Regions from separate parts of the Homo sapiens genome. Here regions 1, 2, 3, 4, 5 and 7 are each linked to region 6. Evidence: promoter capture Hi-C in 16 types of primary human blood cells and fetal thymus (Javierre and others, 2016). All regions are on one chromosome and are shown on one strand. The core of a region is centred on a gene start or on the middle of the fragment in contact, and the rest is flanking DNA. Distances in the headings are between cores, read along the strand shown.

Evidence for each region. The method cuts DNA at HindIII sites, captures the fragments that hold promoters and counts their contacts. A CHiCAGO score of 5 or more calls a contact.
Region 1: a contact is called between the fragment with the promoter of GRIPAP1 here and the fragment with the promoter of NDUFB11 in region 6, in 9 of 17 cell types (total B cells, total CD8 T cells, naive CD4 T cells and 6 more). The highest score is 17.6, in total B cells.
Region 2: the fragment with the promoter of WDR45 here is called in contact with the fragment with the promoter of NDUFB11 in region 6 in 4 of 17 cell types (neutrophils, naive CD4 T cells, non-activated CD4 T cells and 1 more); the score reaches 8.4 in neutrophils.
Region 3: a contact is called between the fragment with the promoter of RBM3 here and the fragment with the promoter of NDUFB11 in region 6, in 1 of 17 cell types (total CD8 T cells). The highest score is 6.6, in total CD8 T cells.
Region 4: a contact is called between the fragment with the promoter of PORCN here and the fragment with the promoter of NDUFB11 in region 6, in 1 of 17 cell types (activated CD4 T cells). The highest score is 6.4, in activated CD4 T cells.
Region 5: a contact is called between a fragment that was not itself captured here and the fragment with the promoter of NDUFB11 in region 6, in 1 of 17 cell types (non-activated CD4 T cells). The highest score is 6.8, in non-activated CD4 T cells.
Region 7: the fragment with the promoter of TFE3 here is called in contact with the fragment with the promoter of NDUFB11 in region 6 in 5 of 17 cell types (monocytes, activated CD4 T cells, non-activated CD4 T cells and 2 more); the score reaches 9.4 in monocytes.

Annotation. Positions count from the first base shown.
Region 1 is chrX:49,000,973-49,003,672 of GRCh38, reverse strand. GRIPAP1 (GRIP1 associated protein 1) reads left to right here and starts at 1,409. Exons shown (of 26, transcript NM_020137.5): 1 at 1,409-1,485. The coding sequence starts at 1,444. RefSeq lists a cis regulatory region at 1-18 and an enhancer at 1,291-1,400. The HindIII fragment of the contact is 9,873 bases long and covers 1,068-2,700 here.
Region 2 is chrX:49,078,586-49,081,285 of GRCh38, reverse strand. It overlaps WDR45 (WD repeat domain 45), which reads left to right and starts at 1,399. Exons shown (of 11, transcript NM_001029896.2): 1 at 1,399-1,535. RefSeq lists silencers at 630-699, 942-1,236 and enhancers at 942-1,236, 948-1,448. The HindIII fragment of the contact is 3,362 bases long and covers 442-2,700 here.
Region 3 is chrX:48,573,176-48,575,875 of GRCh38, reverse strand. It overlaps RBM3 (RNA binding motif protein 3), which reads right to left and starts at 1,392. Exons shown (of 7, transcript NM_006743.5): 1 at 1,303-1,392; 2 at 593-708; 3 at 209-315. The coding sequence starts at 695. RefSeq lists enhancers at 1,065-1,334, 318-1,517 and a cis regulatory region at 1,274-2,259. The HindIII fragment of the contact is 13,325 bases long and covers 1-2,700 here.
Region 4 is chrX:48,507,586-48,510,285 of GRCh38, reverse strand. It overlaps PORCN (porcupine O-acyltransferase), which reads right to left and starts at 1,294. Exons shown (of 15, transcript NM_203475.3): 1 at 1,183-1,294; 2 at 330-502. The coding sequence starts at 465. It overlaps PORCN-DT (PORCN divergent transcript), which reads left to right and starts at 1,447. Exons shown (of 2, transcript NR_135596.1): 1 at 1,447-1,567. RefSeq lists a silencer at 1,068-1,467. The HindIII fragment of the contact is 7,257 bases long and covers 1-2,700 here.
Region 5 is chrX:48,954,738-48,957,437 of GRCh38, reverse strand. It overlaps OTUD5 (OTU deubiquitinase 5), which reads left to right. Exons shown (of 9, transcript NM_001136157.2): 1 at 1-461. Among named protein-coding and RNA genes, the nearest start is that of OTUD5, 1.5 kb to the left of the region's middle. RefSeq lists a silencer at 155-214. The HindIII fragment of the contact is 195 bases long and covers 1,157-1,351 here.
Region 6 is chrX:47,143,310-47,146,009 of GRCh38, reverse strand. It overlaps NDUFB11 (NADH:ubiquinone oxidoreductase subunit B11), which reads left to right and starts at 1,308. Exons shown (of 3, transcript NM_001135998.3): 1 at 1,308-1,537. The coding sequence starts at 1,331. RBM10 (RNA binding motif protein 10) reads right to left here and starts at 789. Exons shown (of 24, transcript NM_005676.5): 1 at 525-789. RefSeq lists an enhancer at 496-765. The HindIII fragment of the contact is 2,886 bases long and covers 964-2,700 here.
Region 7 is chrX:49,041,991-49,044,690 of GRCh38, reverse strand. TFE3 (transcription factor binding to IGHM enhancer 3) reads left to right here and starts at 1,334. Exons shown (of 10, transcript NM_006521.6): 1 at 1,334-1,580. The coding sequence starts at 1,465. RefSeq lists a silencer at 1,364-1,603 and an enhancer at 1,145-2,008. The HindIII fragment of the contact is 3,845 bases long and covers 825-2,700 here.

The DNA of each region.
Region 1 (2,700 bases), core at 160-2,659, 1.9 Mb before region 6:
GAGTCCTGGCTGGCAATACTTTTCTTTTTCTTTCTTTTCTTGGAGACAGAGTCTCGCTCTATCCCCCAGGCTGGAGTGTAGTGGTGCGATCTCGGCTCACCGCAACCTCTGCCTGGCGGGTTCAAGCGATTCTCGTGCCTCAGCCTTCCGAGTAGCTGGGATTACAGGCGCCCACCACCACACCCGGCCAATTTTTGTGTTTTTAGTAGAGATGGGGTTTCACCATGTTGGCCAGGTTAGTCTCGAACTCCTGACCGCAAGTGAACAGCCCTCCTTGGCCTCCCAAAGTGCTGGGATTACAGGCGTGAGCCACCGCGCCCGGCCCTGCTGGAAATATTTTTCCACAGCAGGGAAATCATTAAATTCTACGAAAATAAGAAGGCTGGGCGCGGTGGCTCACGCCTTAATCCCAGCACTCTGGGAGGCCGAGGCGGGCGGACTACCTGAGGTCGGGAGTTCGAGACCGGCCTGACCAATATGGAGAAACCCCGTCTCTACTAAAAAAAAAAAAAAAAATTACCCGGACGAGGTGGCGGGCGCCTGTAATCCCAGCTACTCGGGAGGCTGAGGCAGGAGAATCGCTTGAACTCGCCAAGCGGAGGTTGCTGTGATCGGATATCGTGCCACTGCACTCCAGCCTGGGCAACAAAAGTGAAACTCCGTCTCAAAAAAGAAAAACAACAACAACAACAACAACAAAAACAGAAAGAAAAAAGAAAATAAGAAAAAAACTACACTGAGATACCATTTCTTACTCTCAGATCGGTGAGGGTTATAGTGAATTCTAATACTTGAATGAGCCTGGTGTTTCACCACCCTGGTTTGTTTTTTGTTTTTGTTTTGTTTTAATGTAGCTTTTTCGTTTGATTCACTGTCACTCTTTCCACTCTGCTATTTTTATTGGTGGCTAAGTCCTTTACCTAACGTGACATGCAGTATCATGATAACAAAATAAGTGTCAAACCTTAAAAAAAAAAAAAAAAAAAAAGGCCAAAGGCTTTACAAGAGGTGGGATTCCCCTTTGGGGTCTCCCGGAGGAGGGGCGGGAACAAGACCAGAGCGAAGCTTCCGCTTTCATTTCTATGGTTATTAAGTTACCCATTCTCATTAAAGGAATACCGCGGAAGGGTGATTTTCTGTCGGCAAAGACTTCCCTAGCGACGAGTCCACCCATGAAACGGGGATGTAATAATGTCGTATCACAATGGGTGGCCTAGAAGAGTCCAAAAGCCAATCAGATGACTTACATTCGGGTAGAACGTTGTATTACAGTTCACCTGACTCGTCGGTTTCGTTCTCTTCTCTGCGTCTCCAAAATGCTGCCCTTCGGAATTAGGTTCTACCCCCTCCATTCCTGGCCAGTGGTTTGGTCCGACCTTAATACTGCCAGGAGGCGCGAGCTGCGTCTGCGCAGAAAGCTGGCGGGGGGGTGGGGGGAGGAACATGGCGCAAGCTCTGTCTGAGGAGGAGTTTCAGCGGATGCAGGTGCCGCTCGCGGTGGGAAAGACCACCCGGCTAGGCGACCGGGGGCGGGGTAGCGAGAGGTCGTGCTATCAGCTCTGAGAAGGGGTTGGTTGGGATGGACCCTGAGTTTATGGGGTGGGTCTGGAGAAGGGAAACTGAGGCTCGGAGTGGTGAGACTATTGGATTCCGAGATACTCTGCGGCTTTGAAGGTTGGACTCTGTTAGCATTGTGGGCTGGGAGAGCGCCATTAAGTAGGCGGTACCTTACTCAGACCTGGAGGGGACGAGACTTTTGGGCCCGTGCAGGGGACACCGTCGGCGGGTGATGATAATGGGCTTTGAGGGAAGGAGATCCTGAGAAGGCGAAACCATTTTGTCTGGAGAGGAAGGAAGCGGGTGTTGGGTCGTTTGCGTCATGGTGGTGGGAGCCCTTGAGAGGGCAGAACCATTAGCGGGTGGGAGGTGGTAAGTTTTGGGGGAGATACCACTGTGCCCGGGGATTGGGGAAAGACCCCAGATGTTGTCATTGTTCCTGGGAGGTGGAGATCCTGTGCCATTGGTGGTTGGTAGTGCATCCTAAGAGGGGGCGGCACCATTGGATGATTAAGGGTGATCCCATTAGGCCTGGGGTGAAGAAGGCCATGAATGGGTAATACCATTAATCCCATTAACTGGGGGGAGGACCAGAGGGGTAAAAGATTGATACCTTGGACTACAAGGAGGGAAGATCACTGGGCTTTGGGGAGGTACCCCCACTTGATTCTTTTGGGGGGACTCTGAGATGCAATGAAAGGCCATAGCATTGCACTATGAATGGGCCCTTGTTGAGAGGGTTCCTCACTGGGGGGGGGGTCTGAACAGGGTCCTGCATGGGGAGGGGAGGAACTCTGAGGGAGGACAGGTAATCCAATTGGTCCTTGAATGAGGGAAACCAGCTGTCCCTGTGTGAGGGACACTGAGAATGGAAGGGCGAGTTGATTAACCCATGAATGGGGAAGACCACTGTCATCTGAAAGGGATTCTAAGTGAGTAAGAGTCATCCAACTGGCCTACCCAAGGCCTTGTAGAGGCCTACCCTGAAGGGTGTAGGGCCATTCCCAATGGATCATGACTGGGGAGATCTTGAGGGGAGTGGGAATACCCTTGAATGAGGAACATTGATCCCACTGGGCCATGAATGAGGGAGAACTACTGGGCTTTGTTGGGGGGCAAGTCTCGGGGGGTACAAAGGATATT
Region 2 (2,700 bases), core at 150-2,649, 1.9 Mb before region 6:
GTGCTGGGATTACAGGCGTGAGCCACCGCGCCCAGCCTATTTATTATTTCTTAATGTAAAGTTTAATTAAAAATCCTTCCAGCCGGGCGCAGTGGCTCACGCCTGTAATCCCAACACTTTGGGGGGCCGAGGCAGGCGGATCACCTGAGGTCAGGAGTTCAAGACCAGACTGATCAACAGGGAGAAACCCGGTCTCTACTAAAAATACAAAATTAGCTGGGCGTGGTGGCACATGCCTGTAATCCCAGCTACTTGGGAGGCTGGGGAGGCTGAGGCAGAAGAATCCCTTGAACCCGGGAGGCGGAGGTTGTGGTGAGCCAAGATCGCGCTAATTGCACTCCAGCCTGGGCAAAAAGAGCCAAACTCTGTTAATCAAAAAAAAAAAAAAAAAAAAAAATTCCTTCCAGTATGCATATAATTTGGGGCCTTTTTTTAAAAGCTTTATCATAGGTAGGACCTCTTTTTTTTTTTTTTTTTAACCCAAAGCATTCATACCTTTTACTATCAAAAAGCTATTTTGTATTTTGTAAAAATAAAAGCAGAGGCCGGGCGTGGTAGCTTAAGCCTGTAATCCCAGCACTTTGGGAGGCCGAGGTGGGTGGATAACCTGAGGTCAAGAGTTCGAGACCAGCCTGACCAACATGGTGAAACCCCGTCTCTACTAAAAATACAAAAATTAGATGGGCGTGGTGGCGCACGCCTGCAGTCCCAGCTACTCCGGAGGCTGAGGCAGGATAACCGTTTGAACCCGGGAGGCGGAGGTTGCAGTGAGCCGAGATCGCGCCACTGCACTCCAGCCTGGGAGACAGAGCGAGACTCTGTCTCAGAAAACAAAACTAAACAAAACACAAAAGACAAAACTCAGAGCTGGCGGGGTTGGGGGGACAGGGTGGGGAGAAAGAAAGCGAAATCTGTTCCTTGGCTTCCCGGAGCCAAGGAGGTTTCTCCACTTTCAAGGTCTCCAGGTCCGCCCCCGCCTGTAACCCCCAGCGCCGCCCCTCTGGAAGCCTGGGAGGACTGTGTGTTGCGAACCGGGGCGGCTACTCTCGGCCGCCGCGGAGGTCCGCGTCTTGTTAGCAGGGAAGGTTTACTCCCCCATTGTGGGTGACCAAGGGGCTGAGGGCTTGGCCGGTTTCGCTTTGCTGGGGGCAAGGCACGCTCTCTCTCCCCACCCTTCCGGGTTCCCTCAGACAGTCTCGGCCTTGAGGAACCCCCTTCGCCTCCGGTCCCCCAGCCAACCTTCCTCCGCTCCCCGCGCCCTCCCCGGAGAACCCCACTGTCACTCGCGATGCTCCGAAGACCCGGGAACTAGGCGAGGAAGGCGGTGGCCGCCTTTTTCCAGCTGGGGTGAGTCATTTCCTGCGACAGGCTCCCTCCCCCGGAAGTAGGGCCTGATGTAAACACCCGAGCCGGGCTCCAAGGCCCGGGAGGTCAGAAAACCGGGCCGCGGGCGGCACCGACAGCTGGGGCCCGGGTCAGGGACACGCGGAGGTCAGGCCGGTGAAGGCGGCAGGAAGCTGGAGCACGATCCCAGGGTTGGTTGGGTCTGGGGGAGGCTGGAAGTCTTTCGAGTAGGGGTCTAAGGCAGAGGTCTTGAGTGGGTGCTGGCGTTGGAAGGAGCATGCGGCTGGTCTTGGGAGAGGGGCGAGGCATCCCGGACAGAGTCTTGGAATGGAGGTGCAAAAAAGGGGTGTTGAAAGTTGGAGCTGTCCAGAGAATAACTCTAAGGCAGAGCTGTCCAAAGAAAGAGCATGAGGCATTCCAGTGGAGGGTGTAACTGAAAGAAAGGAAGGAGATTTGGACTCTTGGAGGATGGGGGAGGGAGTATGTCTGGCCAGAGTTATTGGGGAGTTGAGGATTTGAAGGGAAGTTGGGGGCTCTATGGCAGTAATCTTAGTAGGGGACTGCGCAGGCATCTTAGGGGTTGAGGTTCTCCTAGGTAGGAGTTTTGGGTGGTTTGTTTTGGGCAAGGGTCTTAGAAGGCAAGGGTGCCCTGGGGCGGGGTCTTGGATAGGGGTCTAGAGGGGGAATCTTAGGAGGATGGGGGGGGTTCCTGGGGTTGGGTCCAGGCCAGGTTATGTTGTAGTCAAGGACAGCAGAACACAAGGAAGGAGATGTCCCAGGGGTGGAAAATTTAGAGTGCTAGGGGGAATCCTAGGGTAGAGTCCCCAGGGCATAAGCCAATCTAAGGGAATGTCTAGGCTGGCCCTGAAGGGTAGTTACCAAGGCATGAGAAGGGGTCATCCCAAGGTAGGCATCCTGAAGGAGTTTGGGGAAGCCGGTTGAGGGGGAAAGGTGTGAGAGGACTCTGGGGTGGTCAAATAGGTTGGGGTACAGTTAGAAGGGTATGAGCAGAGGAGTTCCTGGGGATGGCAGACCAAGCATAGCAGTCCCAGGGCCAAGTCAGGGAGGTACAAGAAGTGCATCTCCTAGCCCACTTTTGTCTATTTATTGAGAGAGTCCGGTGCTAGGTCAGGTTTGAAGATGAGAAATGGGTTGGGAGTGGTTCCAGGCCATGTCTGGCATTGGGATCAAGATTGGCTGGCGGTGGGGAGGAGATATCACGGGGGCACCCCCTATCACATTACTTCCTGACAAGTCAGTGAGGGCCAGCATGTAAAGAGGAGGTGTGGGGTCCACGTCAGTGTGGGCCTGGAGCTTGCCAAACCTGAAAGAAGGAGGGTTCCTGGCCATGTTGTT
Region 3 (2,700 bases), core at 143-2,642, 1.4 Mb before region 6:
ATGCAGGACCAGTCGTCGCCTCCCAGGCGGCCAGGCTCTGTCTGCCGCTGCCCTCCACCCCCTAGAACAAAAGGCAGTCATGCTCCTGTGAGTGGGCACTGCGGGGCTTGGTGGCCACGCTGCCCCGAGCAGACACAGAGGGAAAAACAAAAAGAATGAAGGAAGCCGCAGATGGGGACAAGGTCCCTCTGCAGATAGGAGGCCCCACCTCTCCGTTCATGGCTCTCATGGCAACTGAAGCATGCTCTGGGTTGGTGAAGGTGATGAAACCAAAACCCCTGGACCGCTGAGTCTCCCGGTCCTTGACAACGACCACTGTGAGAGGGAGAGAAGATGGAGCAATGTGGACCAGTCAGTACCCCAAAGGTTAAGTAGCAAAGGGTGGCCGGAAAAGGAGATGGCATAGGTAGGGAAAACGGAGCGCTCCCACTAATCCCAAAGACGCTTCCCCTCATCCTTAGTCTACACCATAGGCTTAGGAAGAAAAAGAATTTGGAGGCGTGGGTCCTAACTTTTCAGTTAATACTCCTTGAAATGCAAGGATCCCAGACTTTCTCTCACCAACCCCCATTGTGAGTATGGCCCGTCTCACCCTCAGAGATAGGTCCGAAACTGCTGAAGTGGTCTTCCAGTGCCTGCTCGTCGGTGTTAAAGTTGAGCCCTCCCACGAAGAGCTTTCCTTCTTCAGAGGACATGGCAGTTCAAGTCCTGTGGGAAGAACATGAAGAATGGTGGCAGGAAGGAGAAAGAAAATGGAGATGTGAGAAAATAGCGAGACGGAAAGCAGAGAAAAAGCACAGAAAATAGACAAGAAAGAGGAACAAAATATGGGTAACTACAGAAAAGCTGAGAAAGGCGGCCAATAAGGTGGTAATCTGAGGAGCTGGCTCAGCGCAGCCACCATTAGGGGGCCACATTGCGCATGCTCTCACATTCATAGCCGCCACGCCCGTCATTTTGTGCCACTGCGCAAGCCCAGAACATCCCTGCGTTCCCTTAACGCCGGCAGAACAAGATGGCGGCGGCCACGTGGGATAAGGAAAGTAAGTGTCGGCTGTCGCGTGGTCACTGCCACCACCGACGCCACCAGTCCCTCCCGGTAGGCCTCACACTCAGATACAGCGCGCCGGCCTCCCACCAACCGAAATGTTTCACCTCCAAGCACGGGACCCGCCCGTCCCAGAGAAAGCCAAGCCTACGTGTCAGTGGCCATTACTCTCCCCACTCGCTATTCCCCGGTCACGGCCGGCGCGGCGCGTGTGTGGCGAGGAGCCGCCGTTTCGCAGGACATATGCAACTTACCTGGAAATTAAAACGTAAAAAACCCGGACGAACAGCGAGCTCGGAGGAGCACAAAAAACAGGGACGGGGCTGCGCCGGAAGACGATTGATAAAGAGTACGTAGCGAGAACGTCCCGGAACGTTCCCCTTGCGCGTCCCGGCGTGCGTGCTGATTGGCTGAGGCCAGCAGGAGCGGAGTGGTGGGGAGAGGAAGGGACAGCAAAGCGAAGGGAGCAGTGTTCTCCGCGAAATGGGGTGTTTCCGGAAATGGGGTGTTTCCGGAAATGGGGTCGACTTTTGAACAGCTGGTGCACCCTAAACGTCAGCATCCCCCCCACAACCGGCTGAGCTGCCTTTATCCCTTCCACAAAGGAACCTTCTCAATCTCATACTACTTGCTGTCCCTGACATCATCCTCCCGTCCTTGCCATCATTTCCCCCGCTGGATCGGATGTCTTCCTCACCATCGTAGTCGTCTTCCTCTAGGTCCCTGCCATTCTCTGATGTTAACCTCCTTCACCTTCTAGTTCTTTAACCTCATACCCTTTAAAGGCCTGACATTTTATCCCCCACCGTCACTGATGTCATCACCCTTCACAGTCCATGATGTCAGACCCAACGTTTTAAGGTTTGACCCTGACTCCTACTCTTTCTCCTCTGTGCTCAACATCTAGCCGCCTGTCATGGGACCCTTTTCCCTGGCGTCATTCCATCTCATCTCTGACTTCAGCCCTCACCCTTGTCTGACTGCTGGCGTGAAGCCAGCCCCTTAATTTTCTCACCAATAGACTGCCTGAGATGGCTTTTACAAAACAGGATGCTGGCCGGGCGCGGTGGCTCACGCCTGTATTCCCAGCACTTTGGGAGGCCAAAGCGGGCGGTTCACGAGTTCAGGAGTTCGAGACCTGCATGGCCAACATGGTGAAACCCCATCTCTACTAAAAATACAAAAAAAAAAAAAAAAAAAAAAAAAGAAAAAAAAAATTAGCTGGGTGTGGTGGCACGTGCCTGTAGTCCCACCTACTCGGGAGGCTGAGGCTGGAAAATCGCTTGAACCCGGGAGGCGGAGGTTGCAGTGAGCCGAGACCACGCCATTGCACTCCAGCCTGGGTGAAAACAAAACAAAACAAAAGAGGATGCTACGATCTTCAGAGGTTGTAAATCCCAATCCATAGAGCAATTTTTGCTCTCTTCGAAAGTAACTGAGCCCTTGCCGGGCGCAGTGGCTCATGCCTGTAATCCCAGCACTTTGGGAGGCCGAAGTGGGCAGATCACAAGGTCAGGAGTTCAAGACTACCCTGGCCAATATGGTGAAACCCTGTCTCTACTAACAATACAAAAAAAAAAAAAAATTAGCCGGGCGTGGTGGTAGGCACCTGTAGTCCCAGCTACTCAGGAGGCTGAGGCGGGATAATCGCT
Region 4 (2,700 bases), core at 45-2,544, 1.4 Mb before region 6:
AACCTTGGGATGTAGACATTTCAGAATCCCAAGATCCAAGAATCTCAGCTTTCTGGAATCCCAGAACTCAGGAATACTGAAGGGCATGGCTTGGCATGGCAGGATGTGGCTCGGTGTGGCATGGCATGGGGTGGCTGGCATAGTAGGATGTGGTATGGTGGAATGGGGTTTGGCCTGGTGGGATGTGGTGGGGCTGAACATGTTGGGGTCCAGCTTGGACATGCTAGGGCCTGGCAGGATGTGACAGGGTAAGGTGTGGCTCGATATGGATGAATGTGGGAGGTCTGATATGGCCTGGCATGGTGGCACACGGTATGGCAGGCACTTACCGAGCCTCCAGAGGAGGCGGCAGGCGAGGCAGATGGCAAGGAGCAGCCAGATCTGGTCAAGGCCCTGCTGGGCAGTAGGCAGGAGACAGCCTTGCAGTAGCTGCTGGAAAAATTCCTGGCGGCTAAAGGTGGCCATTGCAGACCCCCACGGATGGATGGCCAGATGGATAGATCTGTCAAAGCAGGGACACAGAGGGAGCGGGTGTCCGTGGGGCAGACCTCGCTTAAAGGATGCACTCTGGCACTCACATTTCAGTTTGGGGCTGCCCAGCCCATGTAGAGGCACGGTACTGGAGGACTGGGGGAAGGCGTGAGAAGTCAGGTACATCAGACTGAGCCACCAACTGTGTGCATGTGGGTGTTCGGCATGCACACGCACAGCCTGTGACCTGGAGTGAATGAAGGACCTCTGTCTCTCCAGTGCTGTGAACAGTCCAGTCCGATGGTGATGGGATGGCATACATTTCAGGCCCATATATCAAATGGGGCGGGCGACGGGAAGGGGAATCCCTGGTTTCCAAGGTAGAGTCGCTCTGAGTGGAGGGCAGAGAGGGGGATTCTGTGACACTTGGGGGCCGTGTGCATCTCTCCTTGTATGGATGCGGCGGCACGGGGAGGGGGGGTGTCCTGTATCCTCCGCGCCCCCCATCTCATCCCCACCCGGCGAGAGGCCGCCAACAAAGTCCTGCCCAGGTCCGGGGGCTGCAAGGAGGTGGTGGTAGGAGACATAGCCTGAGGGAGAGTCGGAAAGGTGATGGGGAGGGGGTCCTAGCACTCGCGCTACAGATCCGCCTGGGGAGGCCGGCCCAGGGATGGGAGCTGGGGAGCCGCGTGCGCACTACTGGCGACCTACCTGGCAGGAAAGAAGCCGTGGTCCTGGGGACCGAGGACGCGCTGCCGCCGCCGCTGCCTCCTCCGGGCAGCCTCCCCCGCAGGCCGCAAGGCCGGGACCAGCAGCGGCTCCCAGAGCGGCGCGGCGAGCGGGCCCTTTAAATCCCGGGGCGGCCCGGCCGCCGGCTCGGCCAATGGGAGAGCAGGAGGGGGGCGGGGACGGGGACGCGGAGGAGGGGAGCAGGAGGATTGAGGGGAGACCGGCGCGGGGGGACGTCGGCGCGCAGGACGTTCACGCCCGCACCTTTCCGGCCTGTGGCGGTTTCAGCCCCAGACCGTCTGCCTCCGGAGGATTTCTGGCCATCCAAGAACAAACTTCCGAATCTCCAAATTTCCAAGCCTTGGAAGTGAGAAGGGAAAGATGGGGGAGGGAGGAGGGAAGCCGCTGCACCCCCAAATAGTCACCCGCGCACGTCCTCTAAATACCGTGGTGTCCCCGTTTCACAGATGGGAAAACAAACCGAGATCTCTCCTTCCCCAACCTTTGAGAGAACCGAAGTAACTCCCAACCCTCCCACCTCCTGGGACCGGCCAGGAACATTTATAAGTAATGACTGTGTCACCTAGGAACACAAATTAGGCGCCTGTGCTTCCCCTGGGGACGAGCTGTGAGCACTTGGCGTGTCGTCGTTGAGAAGTGATTTGCATGCTTAATTCCCCAGCAGACTCTTTGCTTCGAAGGTGACCCCAGCGACTAGTAAATGTTCTCTGTGAACTAGAGGGAGGCTAGTACCGAGCACTTAAAAGGGGGGCATTTATAAAGCTCTTAAGGGCCAGGCTCGGTGGCTCACGCCTATAAACCCAGCACTTCGGGAGGCCAAGGGTAGGAGGATAGCTTGAGGTCAGGAGTTCGAGACCAGCCTGGCCAACATGGCGAAACCCCGTCTCTACTAAAAATACAAAAATTAGCCAGGCGTGGTGGCGCACGCTTGTAATCCCAGCTACTCGGGAGGTTAAAGCAGGAGAATCAGGAGGCAGAGGTTGCAGTGAGCCAAGATCGCGTCATTGTGGGCTACAAGAGCGAAACTCCGTCTCAAAATAAATAAATAAAGACTGGGCGTGGTGGCTCACACCTGTAACCCAGCACTTTGGAAGGCCGAGGCGGATGGATCACCTGAGGTCATGAGTTTGAGACCAGGCTGGCCAATATGGCGAAACCCTGTCTCTACTAAAAATACAAAAAATTTAGCTGGGCGCCTGTAATCCCAGCTACTCCGGAGGCTGAGGCAGGAGAATCACTTGAGCCCAGGAGACGGAGGTTGCAGTGAGCCGAGATCACGCCATTGCACTCCAGCCTGGGTGACAAGAGCAAAACTCCTTCTCCAAAATAAATAAATAAATAAACAAGAGCGAAACTCCTTCTCTAAATAAATAAATAAATAAAATAAAAAAGAAAGCGCTTACACTGGCCCCATCCGCACCTCTATCTGCACCAACACTAAAGATTTATGTAGCACCCGCCTTCTACCTACCCTACTGC
Region 5 (2,700 bases), core at 5-2,504, 1.8 Mb before region 6:
TGGGCGGCGGCGATCGCGACCGTGACTCCGGCGTCGTGGGGGCCCGTCCGCGAGCTTCGCCACCGCCTCAAGGCCCGCTACCAGGACCGCCGGGCGCTCTTCATCGCTGGGCGCTGGCCGTGCCGCCTGGTGCAGTGGCGGGTCCCCGGCCACAACAGGCTTCTCCACCTCCTTGCGGGGGCCCAGGTGGTCCCGGCGGCGGTCCCGGCGACGCGCTGGGCGCAGCGGCGGCGGGTGTGGGTGCCGCGGGCGTGGTGGTGGGTGTGGGTGGTGCCGTAGGCGTGGGCGGCTGCTGCTCCGGGCCTGGGCACAGCAAGCGGCGACGTCAAGCTCCCGGGGTTGGCGCGGTTGGCGGGGGCAGTCCCGAGCGTGAGGAGGTCGGCGCAGGCTACAACAGTGAGGACGAGTATGAGGCGGCTGCAGCACGCATCGAGGCTATGGACCCTGCCACTGTCGAGCAGGTAAGAGCTGTGGGGTGAGGGGTGAGCGGCCACGGCAGATGGGACCCCCAGACTGTGAAGGGACTCAAGGAAGGCTGTTTGAGATCGCCCCAAGGGATCTAGGCGTTTTCACTGGGCCTGACAGTCTTCTCTGGCGGTAGGGATGTGAGACACCTTCTTTCCTCCCCTCCAGGATTTTGGGGCTAGAGGCCTACGGTAAGGTGTCAGACTTAAAGATCCGAGGTCTCTTTTAAGGTCTATAGTCGTCATTCCAGTCCCTGGGACCTCATCATATAGGGCCAATAGGTGGGAATTCTCCAAGAGATACAGGTAGGATCGCGCCCCTCTTGAGTAGGAGTCTCAGGTCTCCCAAGAGACTTAGGTATGTGTTCAGTGGCTTAAGAGCTCTTTTCCTCTGGGATAGAAGTTTGAGATTCCCCTTCCAGGAAAGTCAAATAAGGTGGAGACCTCGGAGATCGGGGCTGAACATCCCCAAGGAGCCTAAGCCCTTTCAAGAGTCTGAGACACTCTGCATATAGGACAATCCTCTCCCGCTTCGCTGGGTAACACTGCACAGGACCACTGAATAGCCAGACCTGAGACCTCAAGGGTCCTAAGTCTGTCTTCAGGGGCCTGAGAGTCCTGCTTCTAGAATCAAGGTCCTGACACACACACACACACACACGCCCCCTTTAAGGATAGGGATCTTCTAAGCTTTTTCCAGGGATGTAAGACTTTTCACAGGGAGATATGATTCCCTTGCCCTTGGGGACAGGGACCAAAACCAACACCCAATGACCAGCAGCTTTACTTATCTCCTTTCTGAGTGACAAAGGTCTGCATTTCCTATCAGTGGCCTGAGACCTACCTCTTGGGAGACAAGGGCCTGAACCGCTTCAGGATCTTAAGCTTCTTGTAAGAAGAGATGGGCCCTCAGCACCCCCACCAGGGGCCTGAACCTTTCTTCAGGAAAATGAGACTCACAGCGTTGGATCCTAGGGCCTAAGATCCACCTGCTTATGGACTGAGGTTTTTAGAGACCGAGTCTGAGGCCTCTTCAGGGGCCTGGTGTCCTGCTGCAAAGGTCTCAGACAAGGTGAAGTCTTTAGGAGATCCTTCTTCTCAAGGCTGGTGTCTGAGTGGTTTTGGGGATCTGAGACTCCCCACCCCACGAGCATATGTGACCCTTTTACCCCAATTATAAGGAACTGAAACATACCTTGGGGATACAGTATCCCATTTTCCCCTCTGTAACAGGGGTTTGAGGCCCTCCCACCTTGGGCCTAAGCTTTTTGTCAGGGACATACGACCCATGCCTTGGGAACTTGAGCCTGAGACGACTACTCAGGGGACATGGGCAACATGGGATCCCAGAGATGATGTCTGGGGCCTCCCTACAGATCTTTGCCTACTTTTAAGGGCCTGAGACCCACTCTGCCAAGGACACTTGAGCTTTCCTTCAGGGACAGGAGACTCATACATACCTTGGTGACTTGTGTGTCTAGAGGTAAGGTCTGAGCTTCCTCCTCAAGGAACTTAAGATGTACACCTGAGAAACAGGAGGACTCCTCCCCCCAGACCTGAGCCCTGAGACTCTTCCCTTGGGGCATGGATAAAGGATCCCTGTGGAACAGGGTCCTGAGTCTACCTCCAAGGGTTTGAATCATAACTCAGGTGTGTGAAGGCCTGTTCCCCACCTTAGGACCTGATTTCTGAACCTGCCCTGAGGGTACTGTCACCTCACCTCAGACAACTTACATACACCCTAGTCTTAGGGGTCATTTAGGGACATAAGACTTCCTGCCTCGGGGACTTGGGCCTTAGACTCCCAACTCCTTTTGGGGACATGAATAGGGTAGGATTCTGAGGAAAAGAGTCTGGGCCCAAGCTTTCTCTCTGGGACAAGATACCGTTTGCCTTAGGGACTGGGGGCCTGGCTCCCACTTGGGCATGAGGCTCTCCTCCTACCACACCAGGCAATCCTTTCTGTCCAGGGAGAGGAACGTGAGGTCATCCTCTCCCATTGGACAGAAGGACCTGGATGCTCTTCAGGGTCATATGAACCCCTTATCCAGAGCTCCCTCGTGGCCAGGGCCAAGAAGGTCCTCCTACTTTCTATGAGAAGATTGTCAGGTCCTGGGGACATGGAGTCTGGAGCCTCCCTTCTGAAACCAAGAGCGATTCCGAGTCTCTCCCTGACCTAGCTATGCTTGCTTCTCACCTCTAGGTCATATAATAAGTTTTGAACTGCTTTTGACAA
Region 6 (2,700 bases), core at 59-2,558:
AAGACAGTCGTCCCCCAAGCCCCGCCCCATGGATAAGGATCAGAGTCACAGACCGCCCCCCCTCAAAGGGTAAAGACCAGAGTCACATCCCCCCTCCGATCCCCCAGGAATAGAGACCAGAACCACAGAATATTTCCCCATGGACCGATAAACACCAGAGTAACACAGAGCAGCATCCCCTCTCCTATGCACAAACTCAAAGTCGCAGACAACCGCTTCCCCACTGATAAACTTCGATGTAGCCGACACAGTGATCCACAGTAGCCCACTCCCATCCGTCCCTCCCTTCCCCCAACCCGCATGCACCCATCCCATGTCCCAGTCGCGCACGCGCCTTTGCTCACACCAAAAAAAAAAAAAAAAAAAAAAAAAACCAAAAAAAAAAAAACCCTCCCGGGTTGAGACATTGCACCAACCCCTCCGTTCCGCGCATCTCCCCCGACCCGAAGTCCGCCCTCGCGCCTCCTCTACGTCCCCGCCCCGGGCCCCTTACCTCCGCCCCCACGACCAGCGTCGACGCTCACCTTCTCGGCCCGGGCTGTCAAGGAAGGGCTCCCAGACATCACCTCTGCCCGCCGCCACCTCCTCCAACTCTCCCAGCTCAGCCGGAGCCGGAGCGCGCAACAACCAAGTCCGAGACTGGAGGCAGATCGGGGGGAGGGGAGAAGCGCCAAGCGCGCTGCCCTCCCAGGGAAACTCACTGCCGCCTACTCCCAGCCGGCCACAGTCACCAGCTCAAAATGGCGACGACGAGAAGGGAGTCGGCGCTCCGACCACCATCCACCTACTAAGGAAGCGCGCTCTGGCCGGCCCCGGCGATTGGTCACCGCCCGCTAGGGGACAGCCCTGGCCTCCTCTGATTGGCAAGCGCTGGCCACCTCCCCACACCCCTTGCGAACGCTCCCCTAGTGGAGAAAAGGAGTAGCTATTAGCCAATTCGGCAGGGCCCGCTTTTTAGAAGCTTGATTTCCTTTGAAGATGAAAGACTAGCGGAAGCTCTGCCTCTTTCCCCAGTGGGCGAGGGAACTCGGGGCGATTGGCTGGGAACTGTATCCACCCAAATGTCACCGATTTCTTCCTATGCAGGAAATGAGCAGACCCATCAATAAGAAATTTCTCAGCCTGGCCGAAAATGGTTGGCCCCACGAAGCCACGACAACTGGAGGCAAAGAGGGTTGCTCAACGCCCCGCCTCATTGGAAAACCAAATCAGATCTGGGACCTATATAGCGTGGCGGAGGCGGGGCGATGATTGTCGCGCTCGCACCCACTGCAGCTGCGCACAGTCGCATTTCTTTCCCCGCCCCTGAGACCCTGCAGCACCATCTGTCATGGCGGCTGGGCTGTTTGGTTTGAGCGCTCGCCGTCTTTTGGCGGCAGCGGCGACGCGAGGGCTCCCGGCCGCCCGCGTCCGCTGGGAATCTAGCTTCTCCAGGACTGTGGTCGCCCCGTCCGCTGTGGCGGGAAAGCGGCCCCCAGAACCGACCACACCGTGGCAAGAGGACCCAGAACCCGAGGACGAAAACTTGTATGAGAAGGTGAGAGGCGGGGGGGGGGGGGGGGGTAGTGGGGACGGAACCCCGAAGGGGTCAGTCCGGGATCGGCAGATGGGGCGCTGTAGAGGACGTTCTTAGGCAGTAGAGGACTGCGCGGCCGGCGAAAGCCTAGAAGACTTGGGAATTTTGCCTACCTTGTGTTCCTCCTTTGTCTCTCGGTATCTTCGTTCCAGGGCCAGAGGCAGGATTGGTTTTATTTTGCAGACAGAAATCACACCTCAAGTGGACAGCGCTCAAAACACGTTAGAAGCAGTATAGTACAACGATAATACTAAACACCGATATGGCACTTGCTCGTTGCCGTCTGCATTCTTTTTTTTTTTTTTATAGGGACGAGATCTCGCTATGTTGCCCAGGCTGGTCTCGAACTCCTGGCTCAAGCGATCCTCTCGCCTCGGCCTCCCAAGGTGCTGGGATTACAGGCATGAGCCACCGCTCCGGGCCCCGTCTGTGTTCTAAACACTTGACATGCATTAGCTCATCTTATACTCGAAACAAACCCCATTTCGAGGTGGGCTCTATTATTATACTCATCCTACAGATGAGGAAACTGAGGCACAGAGATGTTAAGTGGATTGCCCTAGCTCACATAACTGAATACATGGTGGAGGTGGAACTGGTATTTGAATTTAGGGCTACCAGGTCTGCTGTGCTGTATTAATAGCAGACGCTGTGAAATCAGGCAGCACTGACGGTTACCCACCCGTGTGATCTTGGTAGCATAAACCCTTGGTGCCTCAGTTTCTTTGTCTGTAAGATGGGAACAGTAATAGGACACCTTCTAAAAAATAGGACACCCCACCTGCCTCATGTAATTAAATGAGTAAAAATGGTCAGAACAGCAGCTGGCACTTCGTAAGTATGTACTCAGCACTAGAATGTGTTTATTATTGCCATGTTTCACCTCACTGAGATATTGTGAGGTGTTTCTATGTGAAAAGACTGGCACATAATAAGTACTTCATCAATACTAACCTCTGGTTAAGGGGCTTGGATATATAGGATGCTTGTTCATTCTGTAAATATGTATTGAGGGCCTGCTGTATGCCAGGCTCAGTTCAGGGCCCTGGGGATACAGCAGTGTGGAAATCAGACAAAGCCCATGCTCTCATAGAGCTTACATGATAGTGGGGAAGACAGAAAAT
Region 7 (2,700 bases), core at 85-2,584, 1.9 Mb before region 6:
CCCTTGTACGAGATGGTTGTGTGTGAGTATGGATGAGTTTACGAAAGCAACTGACAGACCTGTGAAATAATGATGCCAATACAGGAAGGTCCAAGGTAAATGAAAGCCCGGTGAAATTCCTGGAGGCGCAACTCAGGGTGGGGTCTTGGGATGTCAGGAAAGAGGAAGGGAAGGCTGTAGGTCTGGGTGTTTTGTGAGCTATTTGCACCTGAGGATATATGAGTGAGACCCTCCGCCTTGTGCGAGCCGGCTTGCATGCGTCTGGCATACAGAAGCGCTCAGTGAATGTTGAATAAGTGAACAAATGAGTGAATCAACTAATTTTGGGAAGCTTCTTGTATGCCAAACAACCTGCTAGCACTTTTCATACATTATCTTTAATCCTCAGAACAACCCTGCCAGACAGGTATTTTGACCCCCATTTAACAGGCCAGGAAAGCTGAGGCTGGGAGAGGGGAGGTCCCCTTCCCTATTCAAACCTGGATCTTTGTGATTCCAGAAGTCGTCATTCACCGAAGGGACCAGATTCATTCACCCGTCAAGAATTTATTAAGCACATATTGCGCAGCGCAATGAACATAGTACAACCGCTCTCGATGGCATGGAACAGGCGGAATACTCCCGGAAGACCAGCTGGGCGGCTGGACTGCGGACAGCGAAAGGGGGGGGTTTCTGGCCCGCACCTTCAGGGAATGTAGCTGCCTCTGCCTCATAGTTATGGCTTTGGCTGAGAGAGCACAGCCAGATCGAGGTTGGAGCGCGGTCTAGGGCTCAGATATTACAAATATTGGCCGAAAGAGGGCGCGGTTCCGCAGCTAAAAGCTTGGCCAGGAGACCCTCCGTGCGCCGACTGGCCATCGATGCGCAGGCGCAGAGGACCCAAGGAGCGGCTTAATATTACCTTGCAGAGGGATAATTTGAGAAGAGAGGGCGTGGCTCCGAAAGCGACGCAAACATAGAGGCGTGGTTCAACCAAATCAACCCTCGCCTATTTGTCGCTGCCCCTGAGGGCGTGGTCTGGGTGCTGCTTCTCGGAATGAGGGCGGGCCGAATCGCGTTTTTCCTCCGCGTCGGAGGCGTCGCTTAGGGTGGGCCCTCGAATCGCCGTTCAGCGATTGGCCGCCTCGCTAATGGGTCGTGGCCAGACGGGCCATCCATCCCCAGTGCGGTCACTTCCTGTGGAGTTTCCCCATCCCTGGGAGGAGGGAGGAGGGGGAAGAAGACGAGGGGGAGGAGGGCGGTCGTCCGGGGTTAGGTTGAGGGGGGGCGTCGGTCCGTTCTGGGCGGGGGATGACTCACAGCCCATCCCATCTCCCCGACGCCGCCCGCCCGCGCAGTGCTAGCTCCATGGCTTAGCGGAGGAGGCGGCGGTGGCGAGCTGGGGGGAGGGGGGACTCTTATTTTGTTAGGGGGACCGGGCCGAGGCCCGACCGGCCTGGCAGGGCTCGCCCGGGGCCGGGCGTCATGTCTCATGCGGCCGAACCAGCTCGGGATGGCGTAGAGGCCAGCGCGGAGGGCCCTCGAGCCGTGTTCGTGCTGTTGGAGGAGCGCAGGCCGGCCGACTCGGCTCAGCTGCTCAGGTGCGGGGCCGCCTGGGGCTGGGAGTGCCGACTGGGGCTCCCAGGGGCCTGATCTCGGGGGCAGTGGGGGCCCCGGACTGGGATTGGAGGCCCTCGGCCTAGCCTTGGAGGACGTCGGGGCGCCCGTCTTGGGGGGGCACCTAAGGAATCCGGCAGTGGCCTGCTTGGATTGTGGCTTTATTAAAGGAGTCGTGGGAGTGCATTAAGCGGGGTCTGGGTCAGGTTTGGGGAGCCCTTGACTGCGTCTAGAGGGGCCTATTCTGGAGTATCCAGAAACTGGTCTGAGATAGCTGAACTTGGTAGACAGGGTCTCTGATTAGAGGCTGAATTCGGGGATTTTCAGTCGGACATGAGGGGAATGAATTTGAGGGGACACTGTCAGGTGAGGCACTGGTTTTAAGGGAATCCTAGAATCTTTTTTCCCTCAGTGTGGGAGAAGGGGTCCTGAGGGACAGAAGTGCTGTCTTGGGAGCTTGGTGCCTCTCAGTGACTGGTTGCTGTGTTTGGGGATAACATGAATCTGGAGGGATTTGGAGGTATCTCAGATATGCTGCCTGGGACCAGCCTTGTGAGTGCGTGTGAATGAACAAGAGAAGCAACATTCAGCAAGACTTGACCAGAATAATCCTTTCCCCTCTGCCCGCCTACCCAGCTGGGGCAGATCCCAAGGATAGTGGAAAAGCCCTCTTCCCACACCTGTTAAGGGCCTGAATGGAAGATAGACAGCCAGGCAGAGGGCGATGATGTTACCTCTTAGCTCAGAGGCCTCAGACCTTGTTTGGGAACCCAGAGGAGGCTCTTGTTCATGCTGCTACTCGCTCTAGCCTCTCAGCCCTTCCCACTCCCTAGCCCCACACCCCTTTTCTTTTTATCTTCTTTTCGATCTCCGAGCTCCTGGGGGTAATCTTGAATCTGTCCATAGAGCTGGAACGAGTACAGATTGCACCATCCCTGCCTGGGTGGATCCCCTCTGGCCTCTTCTCATCCTTACTTTCATCAATGGGCTTTGGAGCCCCAGCCCTCCCTGCTCACCCCAGTGCCCATCTCTTCCAACTTCTGTGCAATGGGTGTGTGAGCCCTGGGTGGGGGGGGGTCTTTGCCTCCTTTGTGCCTGGGATTG